Linked DNA regions of Homo sapiens: region 2 is linked to region 1. Evidence: promoter capture Hi-C in 16 types of primary human blood cells and fetal thymus (Javierre and others, 2016). All regions are on one chromosome and are shown on one strand. Each heading gives the region's core, a stretch centred on a gene start or on the middle of the fragment in contact. The rest is flanking DNA. Distances are from core to core; before and after follow the strand shown. Region 1 holds the start of C11orf24 (chromosome 11 open reading frame 24). Region 2 overlaps LRP5 (LDL receptor related protein 5).

The links. Contacts are between HindIII fragments. The CHiCAGO score rates a contact against its expected background, and 5 or more counts as called.
Region 2: a contact is called between a fragment that was not itself captured here and the fragment with the promoter of C11orf24 in region 1, in 8 of 17 cell types (megakaryocytes, endothelial precursors, total B cells and 5 more). The highest score is 17.0, in megakaryocytes.

Annotation. Positions count from the first base shown.
Region 1 is chr11:68,270,159-68,275,693 of GRCh38, reverse strand. C11orf24 (chromosome 11 open reading frame 24) reads left to right here and starts at 3,721. Exons shown (of 4, transcript NM_022338.4): 1 at 3,721-3,837. LOC105369363 (a long non-coding RNA gene) reads right to left here and starts at 3,592. Exons shown (of 3, transcript XR_950248.3): 1 at 3,518-3,592. RefSeq lists silencers at 1,585-1,644, 3,524-3,923 and an enhancer at 2,758-3,612. The HindIII fragment of the contact is 7,211 bases long and covers 1-5,031 here.
Region 2 is chr11:68,378,848-68,383,925 of GRCh38, reverse strand. The region is part of intron 5 of LRP5 (LDL receptor related protein 5); the gene reads right to left. Among named protein-coding and RNA genes, the nearest start is that of LRP5, 69 kb to the right of the region's middle. RefSeq lists enhancers at 2,989-3,038, 3,339-3,388, 3,419-3,508. The HindIII fragment of the contact is 4,863 bases long and covers 1-3,803 here.

The DNA.
Region 1 (5,535 bases), core at 2,472-4,971:
GCGCCAAATCTGAGTGTTCCTGAAATTGTCATGGTACTGGTGGTTGTGTGTTTAGTATGTTAATGAGCACATAATGAGGTCCTAGGGGAAGCCTGGGTCAAGCCCAGCACCATGTTGGGTCCAGTTGGTCTTAGCCAGCTTGGTTCATACCTTGGCTTTTCAGGGTCTTAGAAGACGATAGTCTCTAGTTATGTAAAACTGCTGCCTGGAATTTAATTCTCCTGTGACCACCCTATATTATTCCCATCTCATTTTCAATGTTAATTAATGAGTCAATAATAGACATTAAATAAGGCTTCTTTTTGTTTGTTTCTGTTTTGTTTTGTTTGAGATGAAGTCTCGCTCTGTTGCCCAGGCTGGAGTACAATGGCGTGATCTTGGCTCACCGTAGCCTCCACCTCCCGGGTTCAAGTGATTCTCCTGCCTCAGCCTCCCCAGTAGCTGGGACTATAGGCATGGGCCACCACACTTGGCTAATTTTTGTGATTTTAGTGGAGATAGGGTTCCACCATGTTGGCCAGGCTGGTCTTGAACTCCTGACCTCAGGTGATCCATCTGCCTCGGCCTCCCGAAGTGCTGGGATTATAGGCATGAGCCACTGTGTCTGGCCTAAATAAAGCATCTTTAATAGAAACACACACACAAAAACAAAGTTATGTATATTGATCTGTTGATAAAAATGTTGTGATCAGAGGTTCACAGGAACCTAACCCTGTATCTTCCCTAGGAGCTGTGGTTTCCAAGGAGCAGTATTTGCTAAGTCCGTGTACTGGGTGACTTTATTCAACATAACTACTGCAAATACCAGAATTGACTATGATGAAACGGAGGCACAGAGCCTAAGCCTCTTGTTTGTTGTCATTTAGCAAAAAAATGAAGGATCTGAAGCCAGGCAGTGCCATTCCAGAGCCCTAACTTTCAAATGTCATATCTACAAGGTCTTACATTCAAATAACATTGTAAATTCAACAACAAAGAGACCAAGCTCCAAGTTTATTCAGCTATTTCTGCACAGAAGGCACCTGAAATGATCTGTGCCTGGAAACAAAAGGTAGAGGATGTAAGTGTATCATTCTCTATTTTATCCACAGCCCTCAGAAGCAGCTGGTCTGCCTGGCTTTACTCTCCATAACACTCCACAGAACAGTTTTGCAGTTCCCAGAGCTGTGCCTTCAATGGACACTAGGTTTCAGGTGACCAAAGATGCTATCAGAGAATATGACTTTCTCATAGGAGAGAATGAGTTTCCCGGTATGTTGGACCATCTCAGCCAGATATTTCTGTGTCAGAAACCCATCAGTAACACTCTAGACTGGAGATCAGCAAATAGATTCTGTAAAGGGCCAGAGAGTAAATATTTTAGGACTTGTGAGCCATATAGTCTCTACAACTAGTCGACTGTGCCCTTTTATCATCAGATAATACCTAATGAAGAGGCATGACTCTGTTCCAATAGAAATTTAAGAAAGCAGATGGGCTGGGCGCGGTGGCTCACGCCTGTAATCCCAACACTTTGGGAGTCCAAGGCGGGCGGATCACTAGGTCAGGAGATCAAGACCATCCTGGCTAACATGGTGAAACCCCGTCTCTACTAAAAATACAAAAAATTAGCTGGGCGTGGTGGCGGGCGCCTGTAGTCCCAGCTACTCGGGAGGCTGAGGCAGAAGAACGGCGTGAACCCGTGAGGCGGGGCTTACAGTGAGCCGAGATGGCGCCACTGCACTCCAGCCTGGGCGACAGAGCAAGACTCCGTGTCTAAAAAAAAAAAAAAAAAGCAAGCAGATGGAGGTCTAGCTGCCCAGCTGCTCTAGAGGAGAGGCTGTGTCTTATGTTTGTAATTTCAGCCCCAGCAGTAAAAATTGTCCCTATGTTGCCAAAGAGGAAATGAAAACAGAGTCACAGTCATTGATTTTTTTTTTTTTTTTTTTTTTTTTTTTTAGAAGGAGTCTCGCTCTGTCGCCCAGGCTGGAGTGCAGTGGTGAGATCTCGGCTCACTGAAGCCTCCCCCTCCCAAGTTCAAGCAATTTTCCTGTCTCAGACTCCCGAGTAGCTGGGAATACAGGCACACGCCACCACGCCTGGCTAATTTTTATATTTTTAGTAGAGACGGGTTTCACCATATCGGTCAGGCTGGTCTCAAACTCCTGACCTCAGGTGATCCGCCCGCCTTGGCCTCCCAAAATGTTGGGATTACAGGCGTGAGCCACCGCGCCCAGCCCAGTCATTGATTTTTGAAAAGGGCAGGCAAAGAACTAAAATCTGCCTGCCGATTGTATATTTTCACTTCTGGAGTGAGCCTCAATACTGTACTTCATGTTAGATCCGAACTAGTTGGAAAAATTAAAGCAAATACATAGTGAAAGGATCTGATCTTCACATGATCCAACCGGCGTTGGGTCTCAGCAAACCCAACTTTGCAGGTTAAATTCCACACATGAACTGTGGTTGAACTGGGGATGGTGGTGGTGACATCAAATCGCATTTCAGGTGCTCCCAGAGCTCGGAGTGGATGGTAGATCCTGTCTTTGCCCAATCTCAGCTTTCTGTGTCTCTTAGCTTCCTAGCCGAAGACCCCAAGGCAGGTTATAAAACTGGAAATAAAGTCTTGGTTTGCTCCTGTGAAATCATCCTTCGCAGACAGGTTTTGGTTTGGACCGGGGGATGCCTGAGGGTCTTATACAGACTGGGATTCAGTCACAGAACTACTAACTTGCAAAGCCTATTTCTTTCTTTCTTTTTTTTTTTTGGAGACAGAGTCTCGCTCTGTCGCCCAGGCTGGAGTGCAGTGGCACGATCTCTGCTCACTTCAACCTCCACCTCCCAGGTTCAAGCAATTCTCCTGCCTCAGCCTCCCGAGTAGCTGGGACTACAGGCGCACGCCACCACGCCCGGCTAATTTTTTGTATTTTAGTAGACACAGGGTTTCACCATGTTGCCCAGGCTGGTCTCGAACTCCTGAGCTCAGATAATCCGCCCGTCTCGGCCTCCCAAAGTGCTAGGATTACAGGCAAGAGCCACCGCGCCTGGCCTGCAAAGCCTATTTCTAACCAAAGTCAAGTCCCACACACTTGCCTCTAAATTGCGTTTTGCTCCTTTGTTATCCCAGGTTTTACAATTACAGAGCACTTGATGAGCCTGTTTCCACGTCTGTAAAATGAGGCGAAGTTCTTCACTGTGCTATTGCAGAATTAAGCCACTGGCTCTATAGGCAAAGTGCTTAGCACGGGCGTGGCACGCTGCGGGTGCACAGAAACGCTCGCTGCCACCCCACCCTTAACTACCGGGCACCCCAGCGCCCCGCCAGGGGCTGAAGAAACGTGGGAGGAAGCGGAGGAACGCGAAGGGCGTGTGCCCGCGAAAGGTCTCACGAGGCGTTTCGAGGTCGCCTCTTCAGGCTCGGCTGCCGACAAGGTGCCTCTGAGCTCACCCAGCCCAACCCGCGCACCCCGGGACCCCAAGACGGCAGCGGGCACAGCTGGGCAGCAGAGACCCGGGAACACCCACTTCCGCCACAGACCTGCTCAAAATAGCTCCTTCTGGCAGCGCGCAAGAAGTGGCCCGAGCCGGCCCCGGGGAGGCGGGGCCTGAGAGCAGACAACCCCCCCACTTCCGGCTCGCCTCCGTTCGCCACAGGCCCCGCCGCAGCCGCTCTTCGCCCCGGCCAGCAGGCCCGCCCCGCCCTCCGTGACGTCATTTCCGGCGTTTGGGCGGGGCCCGGGCAGGGCGCGCTGCCCGGAGCTGCCTGGGTTGCGCTGCCGGCCACGTCCCCGCGCCGGGCCTCAGGCTCCTTCCTACTGTCCGAGGGCCACCAGGCCGCCGGGGGCCTGCTGCGCCCGGGTAAGGGGCTCGCACTGCCGTCCGGGTAGCTGCTGTCAGGGCTCCCTGACTGGCTTGGGACTGAGAGACAGAGGTTGGGGGGCAGGAGGAGGGTTGGATGGGGGCACGAGGGGCAGTGGGAGAGTGAGTGGGGCTGAGAGAGGCAGGAGGAACGGGACAGGAGGAGCGGCGGATGGGGCACGCACAGAGTGCAAGACGCTGAGCAATGCAGGTACTGAAGAAGTCAACTGGGGGCCGAGCATGGCTGGGGGCCCAAGAGACAGGAGGAGGGAGGAGGGCCGAAGGGGGCCCAGACTGGAGAAGAGGCCGGCTTGTCCCATTGTGGGAGCAGAATGGGGACACTCTGGAAGGGGGCCGAATTTGTCCTGGGGTCTTTCCCGGGCAAGCCCAGGACGGGACTGGACCCCAAGAAGTGTCGCTCTTACTTGAGTGACACAGACCTATCCCCCAGACCCTCTCTCTACCTGGGTGGAGGTTGTGCATTGCCCCAGATTCCCTCCCCTGCCCATCTGTCTCCCTGCCTGCTTCCCCCGTGCGAGTCACTTAGTAGCCCCCGTGTGGCTGCTTAGCATGTTGACTTAATCGTTAGGCTGATAGGAGGAATCGGCCTCCACACGCATGGTTTGCCACCAGAAATAATCATCGTGCTTAGAAATCTGACTGTAATAACTTGCAGCTATCCCTCGCCCCAGGAAAATCTCTAACATTTCGATAAAATCAGCTAGGAAAATCTTTAAAATACAGATGTTTCCATTTATACAGTGGATCTGCCTAATGGACAAAGGAATGTCAGAGCTACCCACGTTCTTAGCAAAAACTAGGCCCTAGTATTTAGCTGTGTTACCAAAACTTCCAGAAACCTGGAAGCAAGCAAGGTAGTTAATGTAATATAATAAATGTCCAATGTTCTAGGTTCCCGTCTGCCACAGAGTCACATCCTTTGGACTACAGGACAATGTCTATATACACAAAGCCATAAGTCTGTGTTCCTTGGGCTTCTGCTACCAAAGTTCAGCCAGGTGACGTGTCAGGATTAGGTACCTGCAGTTTGCCCTGTATTTGTGTTTGCAGTTCCTACTCCTTGGTATCTGTAGCTTGCCTAACTTGGTGTGGGGGCCTGGCCATGTTGCGGCTGAGTGAGTCTTAATAGCCTGATAGAATGTGGGGGTAACAGCTGTAGTCCTTTACCAAGCTTCAGGATTGGTCTTTGGAACCTCTCTATGCCAGAAAAAAAGAATTAAGTTATTTCTTTCCCTTTTTTTTTTTTTTTAAGAGATGGGGTCTCACTATGTTGCCCAGGCTGAACTCAAACTTCTGGGCTTGTAATCCTCCCACCTCAGCCTCCTGAGTGTCTGGGATTACAGGCATGCAGCACCACGCCTGGAGTCCAGTTTTGTGTAACTTGCATAAAGTGCGCCACATATAACAAGCCAAGGTTCGGAACACAAGAATTCAGACAAGATGCCTTGGGAGGCATCTCGAGGTCATGAACCAGAAAAGGATAGGGAGGTTGACACCCAGGGGCATAGTTGGGGGTGCCTTTGTCATGGAGTGTCACATGGCTCAAGGGAGTATCCTGTTGCACCTTCCTTGCAGATCCTATGGGGAGCTGACCCCTGAAGAAGGGAGCTCCCAGTGCCAGCCTAACCTTCCGTCTTTCCATCTGCCCTGGTCTCCAACTTAATACAAACTTAATTC
Region 2 (5,078 bases), core at 123-2,622, 110 kb before region 1:
ATTTCAACAAATTTTCTCCCTCTAGGCTCCACTCCCAAAATGTTCTGTTGACAATGGACCTGTCCTTCAAGGCCCAGGTCACACAGCACCGCCACCTCCTCCTCAGGGAAGCTGTTCCTCCCGCCACCTCCTCCTCAGGAAAGCTGTTCCTCCCCACACCCCAGTGGATGGCCGCCCCATACCAACAGTCGGCCTCATGGCGAGGGCGCCACCCTCACTGGGGTCCTGGCACAAGCCCCCTGCTCTCCACAGCCCCCAGCACAGAACCACATCCACAGCAGCACTACATCCAGGGATGAGCAGGGAGAATCCGAGACCGAAACCTCTGGGGCCTGCTGGGTGACCTCGGGCAGGTTCCTGCCCCTCTCTGGGCCTGTCTCCTCATCCAGTGAATAATCAGCCAGGCTTGGCGATGCCCGAGTCCCTGTCTAGCTATGACTTGGAGGGGACCAGAGACTCCACTTCACGAAAGGTCCCTGCTTAACAGCCACTGTGGGGAGATCACAGTCCTGGAAGGTCCCCAAGGGCTTGGCCGGGAAGAGCCCCATCCACACGATGTCTACAGAACTTTCCAATGAGACTGCCAGGCACAGCGCAAGACGAATCACGCTTGACCTCAGCAGTGTGTCCATCATGGCCCCACAGAGAACGCCAGTGCCAGACAGAAACCGGCACTTGATCCCAAAACACATTCCAAGCCTGTCTTGCCAGCCCGTTCCCTCTGTCCTCCTAAGAAATCACTAAAGTAGGCCGGGCGCGGTGGCTCATGCTTGTAATCCCAGCACTTTGGGAGGCCGAGGCAGGTGGATCACCTGAGGTCAGGAGTTCAAGACCAGCCTAGCCAACATGGTAAAACCCCCTCTCTACTAAAAATAGAAAAATATGCCAGGCCTGGTGGCGCACTCCTGTAATTCCAGCTACTTGGGAGGCTGAGGCAGGAGAATCACTTGAACCCAGGAGGCAGAGGTTGCAATGAGCTGAGATCGCGCCACTGCACTCCAGCCTGCGCGTTGGGGTGAGACTTTGTCTCGAAAAAAAAAAAAATCATTAAAGTAACACAATAGCACAATTTTCACACACCACCCCTTGAGCTATGAGGATGCCCCATTCTACTGACAAGGACCCCAACGCTCAGAGAGGGTAGGCTCCCGGCCCAAGGACACACAGCCGCAAGAGGAAAGCTCACTTCACTTTGCTTCCTCAAACACTTCAATCCCAGGAGCCAGCACATGCAGGAAGTGCGTTTTTCACTTGCCGCCTGGCTGCCTTCATCATCCCACCAGTATCTCTGTGGGAAGCTAGTTCAGGCCAGGCCCTGGACCCGCTGCTAGGGAAGGAGGGGTGGACGAAACAGACTTGGAATCTGCCCTCAGGACGCCCTTGGGGTCACAGGGCAGAGACCTTAGGTGAACGACACCATCCGTGAACACATAGCCACGAACTGTACTGTGAAGGCAGACTAGGGTTATGGGGTCTGTGTGGGGGGCCTGCTGAGATTGAGAGGTCTGCTCTCCAGCTCAAGAGCCTCTGGGATTTAGGTAGCTGTCACCACATGGCAGGTTGTGGCAGGTTCTGGCGGGGTGTCCCAAATGGGCCTAGAACCTTCAGGGGCTGAGCACACCCAGCCCTAGCCCTCTGGTAACTAGGTCAGCAGAGGGCCTCTAGTCCCACCATGAGGAACCTATTCTCGGCATCCCTTCCAATTACTTAGGAGTAAATCAAACCTCTGTGGCGAAGCAGTCCTTTCACTGCTGGGGTGAATCTGTAGGTGTTTACTGACTCGAAGGAGGTGTCTCTGACACCCCTCAGGCTGCAAGGCCTCTGAGGTTTTTGAGTTTTGCAGAGACTGAGACACCTGGGAGAGAGGCAGGATCCAACCCATTTGCCTGAAGGTCTGAGTGAGCTGTGACCAGCACAGAGGTGACCCCAGTGGTGGTGGGGACTCTGTCCAGCCAGGCCAGCAGGGAGCAGCTGCAGAGAGAGTACCAGCAGCCTGGGCTCCGCCACAGCCCTGCCAAGGCTGGTGCCCACAGCTGGCCTCCAGGAGGTTCTGTGTGTAGAGAGGTCCGGGCAGCAGCCATGGCCACGGGGAAGCAGGCCTGGGGTTGGGAGGGGCAGGTGCAGGGGACTGACTGTGCCGGGCTATAAAGAAGAGAGGCCAACTCCTTCCCTGGGACCAGCTACAGAGTCTTGGTAGGAATTTATTTAAACACCAAGGAAGTAAAATGTTTGGAAACTAACAGTTTGGCCAAATGGTTTTCTTTGGGGTTGTTTAAACAGCCCCACAACATTGCCTGAAAGTGAAACCTTCCCCTCGCCCGAGCCTCCTCCAGGCGGGCTGCTGACCTCTCCCCTTCCTCCCTGCACGCATGCAGGAGAGAAGGGCGACATCCCTTCCGCGAGGCCAAGCACAGGCCAGGGGCTTGGGGCAAGGGCCAGGCAGGGCACAGCTTCCTGGCAGGCAGCCTTATCCTCAAAACAAAAAAGCCATCCCAAGGGATGGCCGACGTCATGGACATGTCCAGCTCGACACCGTCCGTCCCTGCCCACCTCTGTCCCCGACCACATGGACACGCAGAACCTGCAGAGGGCTCCCGTGACACATCGCCACCAACCAGGTGGCTTCTAACATCAGAAATGCACCCCCCCACACACCCTAAGACATGCATCCCTGCAATCAAAAGTCAAGACGTCTGCAGGGACAGACTCCCTCCGAAGGCTCCAGGGCAGGATCCTTCCTGGCATCTTCCAGCTTCTGGTGTTGCAGGAAATACTTGGAGTTCCTTGGCTTGTGGCCGCCATCGCACTAAGCCCTGTTCTGACTCCATGCAGCCTTCACCCCTGAGTGTCAGTGTCTGCTCACCTGCTCTCATGAGGACACCAGCACCGTGGATATAGGCCCCCTACTCTAGGGTGACCTCATCCTCGCTTGATTACATCTGCCAAGACCCTGTTTCCAAATTAGATCACATACACAGGTTCCTGGGGTTAGACCTTTAGCATATCTCCTTGAGGGACACAATTCAACGTACCCAGCCGGGAGCAGAGGGTAAGAGGAGCGCTTCAGTGGAAGGACAGAGGCAAGTGTGCCAGGCAGAGCAGACGGCCTGGGCCACTGCACAGAGGCCAGAGAGAGGGTGGCCCAAACCTGTCGCCGGGGCTGATCTGAGCGTGGAGGCCTGGCACCCACCAGCATTGGCACTGCCCCGCCCACCACAGCTCTCTTCTGAGGCCCCACTGCATGCAGGACACGCCCCACTGCGTGCAGCTCCGAGCCCAGCCCTATCCTCCAGGAAGCCTCATGCAAACAGCCCGCCGTGCGTGCAGCAGATCCCGACCACAAAAGCAAACAGACTGCCACTCTCACACAAAAGCCGGGAAGGAAACGCGCTCAAATGTCAACAGTGGTTATCGTCGGACGGGTCCTATCCTTCCTTCTAGCTGTCGGACAGAGGTCGGCAAGCACTCTGGGAAGGGCCAGAGAGCAAATATTTTCGGTGCTGCGGCCTGCACGGTCTCCTTCCCGCCTCCTCAGCTCTGCCGCAGCTGTAGGAAGCCAGCCTGCCTCAGTCAACACAGCTGGGAGCAAACAAAACTTCATTTATGGACACTAAAATGCAAATTCCATGTCATTTTCCCATGTCCCAAAACATTATTCTCCTGATTTTCTTCTCAACCATGTAAATATGTAAAAAGCATTCCGAGCTCATGGCCTGTCCCAACTAGATGGTGAGCCATCTGGCCCCTCGGCCAAATGACCCTCGTACAAGAAGCGTGTGTGACTTTGTTTTTGAGACGAAGCTTCACTCTTATTGCCCAGGCTGGAGTGCAGTGGCGCGATCTCGACTCACTGTAACCTCTGCCTCCCAGGTTCACGCCATTCTCCTGCCTCAGCCTCCTGAGTAGCTGGGATTACAGGTGCCCGCCACCACGCCTGGCTAACTTTTTGTGTTTTTAGTAGAGACGGGGTTTCACCATGTTGGCCAGGCTGGTCTGGAACTCCTGACCTCAGGTGATCTGCCTGCCTCTGCCTCCCAACGTGCTGGGATTACAGGCGTGAGCCACCACGCCCAGCCATGAGTGACTTTTATAATATCAGAAAGAAAGTTACAATAGGGGAAGGAGGGAAGGTGGGGAGGAGGAGAGGAGGACAGCAGGTGGAAGGAACTCTCTGTACTTGTCCCTTAATTTTCCTGTAAACTTAAAACTGCTCTAAAAAAATGAAGTCTATTAATGTTGTTTAAAAAATTAAAAGGCATACAAGTCAATAGGGACAACACCAAAACCCTAGCAATAAATTAGCGAAGACTATAAATACAAATTAACAGGAGAAACAGCAGTCAGTAAACGTGGAAATTGGTAACTTCTCAGTCATCTGCAAATAGAAGGGAGCCGCTCAGAGCTGCCAGTGAGGTGGAAAGGCCTGTCTGACACTTAAGTGGGGGCATCTCCCGCTTCTGGAAGGGCCGTAAAGCACCGCAGGCTTCCTGGTCAGCAGCCCGGGAACCGCGGACCCCAGCATTTCCTCTCTAAGAACACAGGCAGAAGCAGCAGCTGGAACGCATGGAGGTTCCTGCAACCAGACACCACCATGGCTCCACAAGAACAGCAAAACTCAAGACCAAGAACCTGGAGACAACCCAAATGTCCTCAAATATTTTTGAATAAAATGTACTTATTTTACCTAAACGAGGGCATTCAAGGTGACGGGTGATGACACAGGCAGGAAAACAGCACACTCTGGAGAAGAGTGAATGATGTCGGAATTTGCATGAACGATAAATGAAAAACACTCAGACACAACATTACACACATTGTTTGAACCAATCTCCTAAAAGTCAATTTATGTATTTATTTATTTTATTTTTATTTTTTTTTTTGAGACAGAGTCTCGCTCTGTTGCCAGGCTGGAGTGCAGTGGCGTGATCCTGGCTCACTGCAACCTCTGTCTCCTGGGTTCAAGCGATTCTCCTGCCTCAGCCTCCGGAGTAGCTGGGATTAGAGGCACCCACCACCACGCCTGGCTAATCTTTTATTTTTAGTAGAGATGGAGTTTCGCCATGTTGGCCAGGCTGGTC